2 separate regions of the Homo sapiens genome follow, and region 1 is linked to region 2. The links are contacts of gene promoters, found by promoter capture Hi-C in human tissues and cell types (Jung and others, 2019). All regions are on one chromosome and are shown on one strand. The core of a region is centred on a gene start or on the middle of the fragment in contact, and the rest is flanking DNA. Distances in the headings are between cores, read along the strand shown.

Evidence for each region. The method cuts DNA at HindIII sites, captures the fragments that hold promoters and counts their contacts. A contact is called where the count stands out against the background at its distance.
Region 1: a fragment that was not itself captured here is called in contact with the fragment with the promoter of CMPK2 in region 2 in 1 of the 25 tissues and cell types used here (pancreas).

What each region holds. Positions count from the first base shown.
Region 1 is chr2:6,356,372-6,363,124 of GRCh38, reverse strand. No RefSeq gene overlaps it. Among named protein-coding and RNA genes, the nearest start is that of LINC01247, 16 kb to the left of the region's middle. The HindIII fragment of the contact is 4,200 bases long and covers 1-3,929 here.
Region 2 is chr2:6,863,110-6,870,690 of GRCh38, reverse strand. CMPK2 (cytidine/uridine monophosphate kinase 2) reads left to right here and starts at 4,784. Exons shown (of 5, transcript NM_207315.4): 1 at 4,784-5,669; 2 at 7,113-7,227. The coding sequence starts at 4,995. It also overlaps a transcript of RSAD2 not described here. RefSeq lists silencers at 4,524-4,793, 5,034-5,473 and an enhancer at 4,794-5,013. The HindIII fragment of the contact is 2,409 bases long and covers 2,880-5,288 here.

The sequences.
Region 1 (6,753 bases), core at 580-3,079, 500 kb after region 2:
TGAATACGTTTTAGAGATCTGCTGAACAATATTGTTCCTATAGCTAATAATACTTTATTCTGCACTTAAAAATGGATTCAGAGAGTAGAACTCATGTGAAATGTATGCTATGGTCTGAATCATAGTGTCCCCCTGAAATTCATCACGGTGAAACCAAACTCCCCACATAAAGTGGAAGTTTTGGGAGGTGATGAGATCGTGAGGGTGGAGCCCTTGTGAATGGGACTAGTGTCCTTGTAAAAGAGGATCCAGAGACAGCTGTCTTGCCCCTTCCACCATGTGAGAACTCAGTAAGAAAGCACTGTCTATGAACCCGAAAATGGCCCCTCACCAGACACAGAATCTGCGAATCTGCCGGCACTTTGATCTTGGACTTCCAGCTTCCAGAACTGTAAGAAATAAATTTCAGTTGTTTAAAAGCATCTAGTTGATGGCACATTGTTATATAAGCCGGTACAGGCATAAACAGTGTTCTTAAGACAACAATAAAAATGTAATAGATCGGGGAGAACAAATGCACGAATAATGCATTATAAACAGTGAGATTGGAGTTAAGGAAGCGTACGTGATGTAGGATCAGGGACAGGCAAACTCTGTGTGTGTGTGTGAGAGAGAGAGAAAGAAACAGAGATAGATAGACAGACAGACATACACATACACACAGAGAGAGAGAATTTCATAGGGGAGATAACTTTTGAGCAGATTTATTAACAATGAGAATAAATTTCAGGCAAAGAGAAGAATATACATTGTCCCAAAGGTCAAAATGCTGACACATTTTCCTGAGTCCAGGAAGCTTCTTTGTTTTTTGTTTGTTTGTTTTTGCTTTTTTTTTTTTTTTTTTTTTTTTTGAGACGAAGTCTCACTCCATTGCCCAAGCTGGAGTGCAGTGGTGTGATCTTGGATCACTGCAACCTCCAATTCCAGGGTTCAAGCGATTCTCCTTCCTCAGCTTCCCGAGTAGCTGGGACTACAGGCACGCCTAGATAATTTTTGTATTTTTAGTAGAGACGGGGTTTCACCATGTTGGCCAGGCTGGTCTTGAACTCCTGACATCGTAATCCGCCCACCACGGCCTCGCAAAGTGCTGGGATTACAGGCGTGAGCCACCGCACTCGGTCCCCCAGGCAGCTTCTTATGGATGGACATGAAAACATTATCATCTAAATCATCATCACCCTGAGGGTTCTAAGATATATTGGTTTTTGATTTGTGTTTTATATGTTTTTCTATAACTCAGTAGAAATAAAGCCTACCTGGATTAGTTTGCTGATTTCTCCAGCAGTGTTATTTTCTCTTAAAATTAGGGCTTAGATATGGAAACGTTGCTAATGTAAAAGTTGCTGATATATTATCGTAGTATTTCATGGGATGGGCTTTGGGATGCCATTGAACTCAGTCTTCAGTGGTCAGGACTCTCCATTCTTGAAAGCTAAATGGAAGGTGATCATACATCTCCGGACATTTTCTGGCACTGTTGATTTGGTGGTGTGCTGATGATGTAACTAGTAATACATAATAATTATGACTCCAGAAGCAGAAGACTGTTCCTACAGTCTGGCAAAGACACAGGAACAGGGTTGGATTAGGATGACGTATCATAATTTTATACCTTCATGCAGAAAATAACATTTAAAAAGTGCTTCTCCAATAGCTGTGGCTGAGAATTCTCTGTTTCCTGGAGGCAGTCTGGTAACAACATTTTGCTGAATTTCAAAAGAGCACCTATAAGTAAAGCCATTATATTGACCATGCTAAAAATTTCCAAGCAAGGCGATCACCATACAGTGGCTGTGTTCTGTAAAGCAGGAAGTGCCGCCATCTCTAAAACCCTTCGGTGGATTTCAGGAGGATTAGCTCTTTAGCGGTGTCTTAGACAAGAGCTGGTTGAGGTTGGTTTGTGGTCTGGTGAGCTTTCTGCTTTTGTTCTGTCATTCCCTGGCTCCTTCTCACCCTTGACTGCTGCAGATGAGAAGACTGGGAGGAGGATTATTCTCTGGAGGGTGACGCTGAGCCCCTCTGCCAGCCGCCTGTGGCTTAGGCAGCTGTGCCTCCCAGGGACTTGGTTGGCCATGGCCCACTGGAGCCTGGAGTCTTCAGTTAGGGAGGTGTCAGAGAGGAACCATGCATTCTTGCTGTCATGGGAGGTGCAGGGAAGAACCACTGCAGGGACCTAGAAAGAGGGACCATCACCTCCCCCTTTCCAGCTCCCTACACACACACACACACACACACACACACACACACACACACACGTCTCACACACAAACTTACATAAGCCCACACCCAAATGGGAATCTTTCTGAACCATAATCAGAGACATGATATTTTTAGACTTTGTTTCAAAGGTGTTCCTCCAGGCATCTGCTTCTGCTGGGGCTCTTCTGCTTTTGCTCTCCACAACATTTCCCTCCCCTCAGGCCCCGATCTCCTCCTGCAGACACAGTCAGGCCTCATGCTCTGTGCTTGGTGATGGGGAGAGATGCAGAAGAGCCTTAGGGTCACCTGCTGTTTCAATCCCACCTCCCTCCTTTACTTGCTTGGTGACCTTCAGCAAAGCACTCAGTATCTCTGCATCCCAGTTTCTTCAGCTGTGTTTTGGGGATGACACCACCTACCAACCTCAAGGGTGGTCATGAAGGCTGCATGAGTTAATTTCTATGAAGCATCTTGGAAGTGTCCCTGGCATACAGGGCAATTTCATTCTTTGCTTTGATGAGCAATTTCTGAGCCCATCTTAGTCATGGGAATAAAGATTAGTATCTCTCCCTCCCTCCTAGGGTCTTAGAATAAAGTCCTCACCCTGTCCCAGCAGTGGAGATGCGTGCTCTGCCTCAGCACAGCTGGCTGGGTTCTTTTGTCCCCATCCCTGTGATCCAGTGCCCCAAAGGAGAACTTCCAGACCTCTGTGACGTGGAACACTTGCCTTTGCCATTCTAACCATGCCCAGACTCCAGCCAGTTATGAATGGAGGCTTCACCTTGGCACTACCCCAAAATGTTGATGGCTTGTCCGGGCTTATTCCAGGAGAAGGAGACATTCTGTTCTGAATTTCAGCCCCATGGAGGCTTTTCTGTCTTTTCTTGTTTTCGTCAGACTTTCCTCCAAAAGCAGGAATCATATCTTGACTATATTCATTGATCAAGAATTTCCTGCGCATAGAAAAATCAGAAACACACACACATAAACACACATACACACACACACGATGATCAAAAAATTATTGCTCAATAAAACAATATGCAAATGACATTAAAATGAGGTTTCAAACAATGCCTAGCTGAATAGAGAAAATGCTAATGATATAATTTAAATGAAACAGATAAGATGTAAAATTGTATATTTAACATGGTTTTATGCACTCATGATTAGATGAATAGAAAAACATGGATACTTATTTGGTGGTGAAATCATAGGTCATTTCTATAGTCTTCATAATTTTGTGCTTTTTTCCAACATTTTAAAAGTGAACTTACAGTACTTTAATAATGTGAGACAAAAAAAGCAATGAATAGTGCTATTTTTAGGAAATCTGAATAAAAGCCATTTATATAATCCCTCTGGGGACTTAGCATTATCTATATTCCCCATTCATCAGACTGAAAACCTTCTAACTCTGATATCACTGGAGGAATCCTTTGAAGAACTGCAATGCAAATTCGGAGAATTTGTTGTGGTGCCTGTCTATAAGATGAGGGTGCCTGAAACTCTTATTCCCACCCCCACCCAGGGCTAACTCTTTCTTCATTGACGGGGCTCCCTCCAGCTGCTTATTTTTCATGCTTCCAGTTTATCCCTGAATTCCAAACCTCTTCATCCTTAGAATGGAGGGCAATGGAGGGCGTCTACCTTGAGCCCAGAGTGGAAGTTTGTGTCAGCCCTGTGTGGCCAGGGATGTTTGTCTGGTGGCCAGAGGTAACACGACACATCACTGGGTACTCAGATGAAATGCGCTGACGTCATCAGACTGTGTGACTGACAAAGCCATATGGTTACACCAAAAGGACAGTAGTCTTACCTATTTCTCCTATATTCTGGAATGAGCTTTCCTTTCATTTCCACATCACATAGCCCAGAGATAAAATTATTTTAAAAAGGTCAGGTTGTGCTTTTCTGATATTGCTTATAGGCACTGCAATAAATGAAATCATCTTTAGGTATTAAACTATCAGAAATGAATATTTTGAAAAAAATACACAGAGTGCAAAAATGCACGGGAGGGACACAGTTTGCCCTTTGCCTTCTGGGATTCTAGACTGATCGGTGTTAGAGGGAACAGGAACTCTCGGATTTATTTCCCTCCTCCTGATGAGTTCCTTAGCCCATATGGAATGCTTTCAGTCTGACTCCTGTGCCAGGCAGTTTGCACTTAGGACGGATTGTCTTGGCATCTTTATTGGTTATACACTCCCTCATATTGTGAATGACATGACGTAAAACTTACTGAAGACAGAAACAAAGCATGAAGTGCTCATCACAGTTTCTGTGCTAACCTGGTTGACAGGGGGAAGGTACTGGCAGTGTTGACAAGGAAGGAACTGGGTAGGAAAGAGAGGGCCAGGCTGAGCCAGAGTTTACTGTAGCATAGCCACTGTCCGGCAGTCACATGCTGCCCCGGTGCACATTGGGGGATGCGCCCTTTGACCTGAGCAACTCTTGCAGTGTGCTATCAGGGCTGCAGTTTCCATCACAAGGGAGGAATCGACAGAAGTCCCTGCTTTGGCTCCATCACGGAGCTTATGTGTGTGTTCCTGAGAGAATCCCACCTCTTGGATGCGTTAGCCTCTCACCTCCTGCCTTCGGCTTCCTTCTTGATGCTGCAATTTTGGCACGCCAAAAATATCCTTGCTTAGCACAACCCAGAAGTGAGGGGCTACAAGTGCACAACCCGGAAATGGGGGGCTACATATATCTGATGGATAAACTCTTCCTTTATTCTCTTTGAAAAGGAATGTGCTGAGAAACAATTCCCAGAGCGTCAGTTTCCCCAGGCACCTGGCAACCTGCCTGCACTCAGTGGCTTCCAGCTTCATAGTGCACCTTCATCCTGACGTCTTCTCTTCTGCTGCCCTCTTTTCTTCCCTCAATCTTGCTCCCTAAGGTTGTGCTAAGTCTTCTCGGACTCTGGGAATCTAAGCTAAGAAACTGCTTCCTAGACAGTGCCTTCTTGCTATGTCCTCATGTGGTGGAAGAGACAAGGCGGCTCCCTGCAACCCCTTTTACAAGGGCGCTAATTCTCTTCATGAGAATAGAATTCTATTCATGAGAGTAGAATTCAGGACCTCATCACCTCCTTAAGCCCTCCCCTCTTAGCACCACCAAAGAGCGATTTGGTTTCTATGTGCATTTTGGAGGGGCTCAAGCATTAGAGCACAGCATCAGCATTTTATAATTCCCTCCTTTCCCTGGACAACCCTGTCCTGGCTCCCATACTCAAGCTACTACATCAATTTGTTTGGTTTCTCAGAAATCCCCACTATTTGAAGGACCCATGGGAATATGCAAGCATTTTGGCTCAGGAGGAGAAGTGCAGTCTCAAGGGGGATACCTGGCGCGGGGCTAAAGAGAAGAGGACAGACAACCGTGACTATCTGGAAATCAGAAAAGAGAGAATATTACAATTTGTATAAAATATTTTCATAAATATTATAACATTTTAGACGTTCTCATAAATGACTTCAAGGCATACAGAAATCAGAGTGGCTGAAACCTGAGGGAATCGCTGAGTGTCAGCACATTTGAGTAGACAATGCCAAGTGCCTGGCCAGGCCAAATGGAAATGGTTTGGGGGAGGGGAAGATATTTCAGGGACACAGACTGAAAGTCGACAGGCAAGGCGGTCCTTGGGTGAGAAACAGGAGAGGCTGATGGTGTGGGCCATACCTGGGCTTGTGTTGGAAAATGACTGCCTGGCTGTCTCCATAAAACAGTTGAGTTTTTGCCAAAATAGATGCAACATCTCTCCTAGGTTTCCCTCAGACCTGGTTTAGGGCATGATTTCCCTTAAGCAAATGATGAGGAATGAACGCAGAGGAGAGGATTGCTGTGAGAACTATTTTTCTTGCACATGTGCAGCCTGCGTGTGCCTGAAGACACGTGACACCAATTATGCCTCATTATAAGTAGGAGCCGCTCTAGATCCAAGAAGGAACACGGAGAACAATGGGATAGCACCAGTGTCTGAATAGGAGAAAAGTGATGGCAGGAAGCAACCGTATTATTTAAAGTTTAAATATACTATATTAAGTACTGGAAAAGTACAGCAAAAAGAGCTGAAAAAGTCATGAATCAAGTTATAACATTTTGAAGCACTTGAGGATGCAGTACCAGGACAAGTGCCCCTTCTGACCTGCAGAGTCTGCCTTCATCAAAATCACTTTTTACTATAATGGAGCAGCCTGGAGGTCAACCCTTTTTTCTGGGTCATCCAAAGCCCCCTCATTTTTTCCTCCCAAGCAGCGAGAGGCCATCCAACTGTGTGACATGCTTTGGTTTGGTATGTTCCAAATTCTGTAAAGAGAAATCTATAATACTGAGTTTGATTTCCTGCCAGCAGATGTCCTTCTCCATCAAATCAAAGGCAAAAGAACCCAGGCTCACTCTTCGTTGTGTCCAATTTTCTCAGTCTTGGCTCTATGGGGGTCTCTGCAGCTCTTGGGGGGTTGGGCTCGCTGCCAGGCAGCTTCCAAGGCTGGCTCTCCCCTGGCTCAGACTCTGATGAAGTTCTTGACCACCAGGGTTAATGGAGTCCGC
Region 2 (7,581 bases), core at 3,535-6,034:
GAACTGGCTGGAAAGGCTTCCTCCTAAACTTGGGGTCAAGAGGAAATTTCCCCTTTGCAGTCTAGATGGGGGGACTGGCTGAGAATGCTCCCTTACCCAAGCCCATGGCTAAAAGAAGTTTCTCTTTGAGGTTCCAATAGATGAGACCTATGGGGGAAAAAATAGTCTCTGAGACCTCATCCAAAGCATGGAAGGTATGAATTCGGGAAGACTTACCAGAGGACCTCTCGACCCTCATTACCCCCACCTCATGGTCCCAAAGTTGTAATCCTGTTTGTGTGTCTGTGTATTTACATGCATGAAATGAAATATCAAAATACTCTAAAATAACAGTGAGTACTGTTCCTTGAAATTATTTAAGACAACTGAGCTCAAGGACTTCTTGGAGGCACAAATGAGTTTGTTAAGGACTGTGCTGGGAGAAAAATCAGGATTCTTTTCTTATTCCGCTTCTGACACTATAAATGTGAACAAAAGTTCTCCGAAAAGGAATCTGGAAGAAAGAGATTTTATTCCAGTGAATAATTTGCACCAGCCTTCAGTGTGAAACAAAGGTATTTTCCAGAGAACAAAAGGAAGTCTAGGGTTTTACAGCAAAAATCCCACCTAGGGTCCCAATCAGGTATATTTATGCAAATGAAGGATTGAAACTCACTTAGTTCTGATTGGGTGACATGGCTGCATCCTGATTGTTTTATACAACTGAGCTCTGATGAATCAATCCCATTGTGTTTTGATTGGTTGACCCAGGAGAGCTCTTCAAGCCCCAAAGTTAGAAAGGGTGGGCTTTCCAGGAAGTCACAGTACTCGTGTGACCTCTAGTCAGCAAATGGCTACTGGGTTTTATTTTAAATTCAGACCTAGTTGGCCACTTGAGCTCCGTCTTGAAGGACTATTTCTGTTCCACATTTGTTCACATCACAGATTTGTAGGCGTGCTGTTCCTATCATTGTAGTTGTAATTTCCAGTTCCCTTATGACCAATGATATTAAGTATCTTTTCCTCTGTTAGCCATTTGAATATTTTTTGTGTGTGATATGCATGTTCCAATCCTTTGCCTATTAGGTTTCCTGCATTTTATCATTAATTTGTAGAAATTCATTGTATATTGTACACTTTGTTAGTGATTGTACACAAATGTTGGTTGCAGACATCTTCTTTAACCTCTTTGGCTTTCCCTTTCACTCCTTCATGGGCCCAAAATTGTATTTGGGTTTACGTGTCTGTGTATTTACATGCATAAAATGGAATATCAACATGCTCTGAAATAAGAGTGGGCTCTAATCTTGGAAATTTTTTTTTTCTTTTCATGAGTGTGTATGTGTGTGTGTGCATGTGTGGATGTCTCAAGACCACCTTTATGCTTGATAATTCACAAACAGGACTCATAAGACTCAGGAGCATGTTAGACTCCCAACTGGGCTTTATTCCTCTAAAAGGCTGTAGAGCAAGAACAATAGGAAAAAGGTGTAAGTCAAGCAGTCTGGAGAGGGTAGCCATAAGCTTTTGAGTCCTTCACCACCTGAGTTGCACAGGGTGTGCTCCCTCCAGCAGTGAACTACCAGGACGTGTTTGAAACCACTGGCCAGGAAAAGCCTGTTTGAGTCTCAGGGTCTGCCATTATATGAAGGGCTAGATATGCAGGCACATCCTGCCATGTGCCCAGCTATAGTAACCAAATCTCAGGACCCCGACAATGAATGAGGTGCACATCGTTAATCTTGACGTTTGTGCAAAATGATCGCAAGCTGGCATGTCATGGAGTATTGCTCCAGGTGTACATAACAGAATCACCAACCATGAATATAAAGAGCCTCTGGAGGGTCATCTTTCCAAAGTTTGGCCCAACAGCAATCATGGTTTGAGGCTCCTGTGGAGATATGCAAGGGGTGAGCAGCTGGACCTGTTATGGCAACTCTTCCCTCAAAGGTAGCTGTATCAACAGCATTTCTTTGTGAGAAAACCAACTCCAAGAGAGAGGAGAATACTCTTCAAATTGTAAGCCCACAAATTGCTAGAATGAATTTTTATTTAAAAAAGAAACAGAAGGTTATGCGGGAGAGAGCTTATCTGTTCCTTGATAACTAAGTGATCTCTGAAACTTGCTCAGTGCTTTTTAGCCCTTTCATTAACTTCTAGCCTAGGATTTGGGTTACAGAGTTATAGACTCAACATTCTATCCTGGGCTCATTTTATTAATTCTTATTTTCTGAGCTCATCATTTATTTTATAATATTCACTTTTATGAATGTGGAATTGTTTGTAATATTCTCTTTTGGGTATCCTTTTGAACTTGTGGTTCTATCATCTCATTTATTCCTATTCTGATTTGCATTTTCTTTCTTTTTCCAATTGAATTAAACTACCTAGAAACATATCTGTTTAAACATGTTTTCAAAAACTAAGCTCTTTTTCAAAGTGTTATTTTTTCATTTTATTATTTATTAATTGCTATTTATATTTTTAATTCTCCCATTCTGTTTCTTTTTTTCTTAGGAGCAGAATGGCTAGAAAAGTTTCATTTTCTCTTGTTTAATACTGTAAGTGTTGAAGATTATGGCTTTTCCTATGATATAGCTGTGCTGTTCATTCATTTAAAGACACCTCTTTGAAGTATCTTCCCAGCCTGCAGCTTCTCTCCTTTCCACCTGCAACGATGGGTGGCTACAGGCATGTTTAGTCAATATAAACATCCAGCTGTGGCTCTCAGAGTCTCTGTCCTACAAATTTGAAGGGGCTTGAAAATCTAACAGAAATTTTTATTTATGAATGAAGATATATCTTCAACATCTTCAACACTTATATAATATTGACTAAGCCCAAATACTGCAGTGTTATTAACTTTACATCTCTTCGTAGGGCGAAGGTAGGTGAAAAATAGAGAGGAAAACTTAAATTAAAAAAGGTAAGATGCTTCATTTAGCAAACTGTGTGTCAGGTTTTCTTTCAGTTGGAGGCTCAGAGAAAAGTTAGGAAGAAGCTGGTCTTCCTACTTACCCTCAAGGTGCTCAGTGGTGGGAAATAGACTGGCACGTGACTGTGGAGTGTCAAGGTCCGAGGATACAAATAGCCTTGGTGGGGGACACAGGAGAGGCTACTAACCCAGATATGTGGGGGGTTATAGGCTATATCATGTCCCCCAAAATTCATGCTCAGGCCTAGCCCCCAGTGCCTCACAGTATGACTGTATTTCAAAATAAGGCTTTCAATAGGTGATTACATTAAAATGAGAACATTATGATGGGCCCTAACCCAATCTGACTGGTGTCCTTCCCAGAAGAGGAAATTTGGAACTTCAAGGAGACGCCAAGGATGCAAGCACAAAGGAAAGGTCCCGTGAGAACACAGAGAGAAGGAGGCGGTCTGCACGCTAGAAAGAGAGGCCTCAGAAAAAGCAAACCCTGCTGGCAACTTGATCTCCAGCTTCTCTGGCCACCTGAACTTTGAGAAAACAAATTTTCTATTGTTTAGGCGGCCCAGTCCGTGGTATTTTGTTATGGCAGCCAGGATAGACTAATACATCCAGAGAGGTGGATGGCATAGGGAAAAGGTCAAGCAGGCTTGAGGATGCAGTACTGTCTTAGAGAAGAAAAGGGAGTAACTAGAAGACTCTTACTTCCATATACTACATACACGTGAAACCACCGGTACATGCTAAATGTCCAAAAGTGAAATTCCTGAGAAAGAATAAAAACTATTCTATTCTCAAAGAGCTAAAAAATTTTAAACTCCTAATTCTTCTTTCTTCTTAGCCTATTAACCCACACTCCAACCACCTATCTATATTTCACGTTTGTTAAGACTTTTTTTTTCAGAATTAAATATAATCCCAAGTTTAAGTCCAATACTATTAAGACATAAAAAAAAAACTGCTTTCAGCTCATCTAATGTTTTCAATCTTCGTCTCAATTCTATTTTTTTGAGAGAGTTTCCCTGGAGAATATTATCTTTTTGTTTGTTTTTGGTTTGCTTGACATCATTTTTAAAAGGCATCAGTTAATGAGTAAACACAGAATAAAATATCCAAATAACTGCGCAAACACTGTTACACTGTTAGGCAGTTACACTGTTAGGCAGCAACAGTGCTGATGCTGGACTGTGGCAGGCAGAGGGTGCTATCCTGACACACTTCACCTTAGTGCAGGAAACTTCAATTTGGTGGAAGAAAGGCGATTTCGAGGTGCCAATCTGGGCGACACTTCCCAGTTGGAGAGTCAGCAAAAGGGAGAGGGCAATTCCAAGAAGAGGGAAAAGCTTGTGCACAGGTGAGTGTGTGCAAAGGTGAGTGTGTGCACAGGTGAGTGAGTGCACAGGTGAGATAAGATACAGGAGAGGGAAGAGCCAGAACTGCGCCCTGTTCCCGCAGGAAAGCAGCTCTGCAGGATTAGAGGGGCGGGGACGCGTGGTCAGAGCTAGGAGTTGAGGTCGGGGAGGGAGCCCATGGTCTGCAGGGCCTGGTCAGTCATCCAAGGGCAGTAGTGCGCCTGCAAGTGGGCGTTGAAGAGCCCGTTACACCGGGAAGGGACTTCTCTGTCCCTCGCGCGTGCACCCCCGCCCCCCTCCATGCACCCGGCATAAGCCGCAGAGGAGGAACTCAAACCAGGGTCGGGGCCGCCAGCCACCCGCAGAACGCACACGGAGCTACCTTGGGGCCGACGGCGCGGGGCCTCATTCGGTGTCAGCCCCGGGAGCCGGCGCCTGGGGACCGCGCAGGCCCGCGGAGCCGCGCACCTGGGGCCCCGGGGCCAAGCGTCTGCTCCCGAGCGCCGGCCGTTTATCGCGCACATCTCGCGGCGAGGAGGAGAGGCCGGAAGGGCGCCCCAGCCCCAGGGCTCCTGCCCCGCCTGGGCCTCCGGCTTTCGTTTCCCCGCAACGCTTCGCTTTCGTTTCCCGCTGGCGCCTGGCTCCCTCCGGGTTTCGTTTCCCGCCGGCGCCTGGCTCCCGCCAGGTTTCGTTTCCGAGGCGGGGCCGAGGGCGGCGTCGCTGAGGCGCCCATGGCCTTCGCCCGCCGGCTCCTGCGCGGGCCACTGTCGGGGCCGCTGCTCGGGCGGCGCGGGGTCTGCGCTGGGGCCATGGCTCCGCCGCGCCGCTTCGTCCTGGAGCTTCCCGACTGCACCCTGGCTCACTTCGCCCTAGGCGCCGACGCCCCCGGCGACGCAGACGCCCCCGACCCCCGCCTGGCGGCGCTGCTGGGGCCCCCGGAGCGCAGCTACTCGCTGTGCGTGCCCGTGACCCCGGACGCCGGCTGCGGGGCCCGGGTCCGGGCGGCGCGGCTGCACCAGCGCCTGCTGCACCAGCTGCGCCGCGGCCCCTTCCAGCGGTGCCAGCTGCTCAGGCTGCTCTGCTACTGCCCGGGCGGCCAGGCCGGCGGCGCACAGCAAGGCTTCCTGCTGCGCGACCCCCTGGATGACCCTGACACCCGGCAAGCGCTGCTCGAGCTGCTGGGCGCCTGTCAGGAGGCACCACGCCCGCACTTGGGCGAGTTCGAGGCCGACCCGCGCGGCCAGCTGTGGCAGCGCCTCTGGGAGGTGCAAGACGGCAGGCGGCTGCAGGTGGGCTGCGCACAGGTCGTGCCCGTCCCGGAGCCCCCGCTGCACCCGGTGGTGCCAGACTTGCCCAGTTCCGTGGTCTTCCCGGACCGGGAAGCCGCCCGGGCCGTTTTGGAGGAGGTAAGAGTTCTGTCCGCTTCCAGCTCCCAGCGTGGCATCTGAACCCTTCAGACCAGAGAACTGGACCAAGAGGCTGGTCTGTAGAGCCGGTTCTTGCCTGGGTGGTTTGTTTATTTCCGTTCACAAATCAGGTAGGGAAGGTGTCCTGTATGCCAGGCAACTCTTTTAAGATTCTTGTTTGCAAGGATCTTCCAACCTGACGTGGAACATAGACCTACACCAAGCCACGCGATGCTTGCTGTAAAAGCATCCCAACAGCAGTACAGAGGGAGTAAAGGGGCTGCCGGGAGTGAGGGAAAATAATGTCAGCTGGGAAGTAATTTTATTTGCTGATGATCACCATTCAAGGATCTTGGGGTGAAAAAGAAAATGCATGAGTTTAGGGGGTTTAAGAAATTTAGACTTAAATAGTGTTTACCTACCGACTGGCCATGAACCTTGTGCAGGTTACTCAACTACTCTAAGTTTTGCCCTTTGACATGTACAATTCCCATCTTGCGATGTTGTCCTGATTAAGGAAACATCTGACTCACAGCAGGTACCCACAGAAAGAGACTGAAAATTCTTTCTGATCGCAGGCTAGGCAGATGTCCTCCTGTGACACAGATGAGCCCTGAGGATGCCCCCATGGATCTTGGGAATATTTTCCAAGCTTACGGGACAGCGTTGTGGAGCAGTTAAGAGCGCAAGGTCAACCACGTGTATTTAAATTTAAACTCTGGCATTTATTAGCTGTGTCACTTTGAGCAAGTTTCTTCAACTCTCTGCCTCAGTTTCCTTAATTCATATGGTGGGAATAATAATAGCACCCCCCCACCCCAGTTCACAGAGATTGGCAACTGAATACTTGTAAAGCACTTAGAAGATTGCCATGCTCAGAGCAAGCACATAAGTGTCTGAGCCTCGCTCTGAGATGCTGTGAGCGTGCAGTGAGATAATGCACATTGAGGAACTGGGAATTCCCAGGGGGACGCTGCTCTGCCAGCTTCATGATTGCAGTGCTTGGCTGTTTATCTCAGCCCCCTGAATGGCTAGGAGAGGACATGCTGCAGATGAAGACTGCTCTCTCCAGCCCACTGTGCAGCTGATTTCCCATTCTTGTGAGACAGTGTTCCCAGCGGGCCTGTAGTTCCATGGTTGCGGTGTCACAGGACATTGTGATGATGTGCCTTGCCTGGCCTTTCTCAAAGCTGCTCAGTGAAGGCTGCAGGCCACCAAGCGATCCAGACAGGGACAGCTGTTTCGAGCCTCGGCTGCTCAATATAAAATAAAACACTCCAGTCCATCCTAGCATCGAAATACTCTGAATTCCCATGGCCTGGCACAGTGCTCAGTATAACTTAGGCCTTATTAGCATGCGGCAATATTGTGCTCAGCAATTTAGGTGTGATTTCTGCAAAAGCCCCCTGGCTTCATTGCTGATGGATAGACGTTGTTTTACAGTGTACCTCCTTTATTCCTGAAGCCCGGGCAGTGCTTGACCTGGTCGACCAGTGCCCAAAACAGATCCAGAAAGGAAAGTTCCAGGTTGTTGCCATCGAAGGACTGGATGCCACGGGTAAGATAATATTACCTTTTAGTTATAGGCAATGACACTAACTGATTAGTTGCAGAAACAGAAATACTTCCTGCAAAACCAAACTTTATATGGAGCCTTATGTGTGCCCCTACTGTGTGGCAGGCCCTGTGCTAGGCAGGCCCTGGGATGCAGAGATGAATAAGACCTTCAATATGAAGCAGCATGATGTGTGGGCGCGGATCCTCAGTGCTCTGGCGGAACACAGGAAGGGCACTGAATCTGGCCTCTGTGGGGCTTTGTCGGGTGGAGTGCATGGTCAAGGGTGATACCTGGATTGTATTTTAAGTACAGATAGGAGTTGGTCAGGTGATGAAAGCAGGTAACATCCTCCAG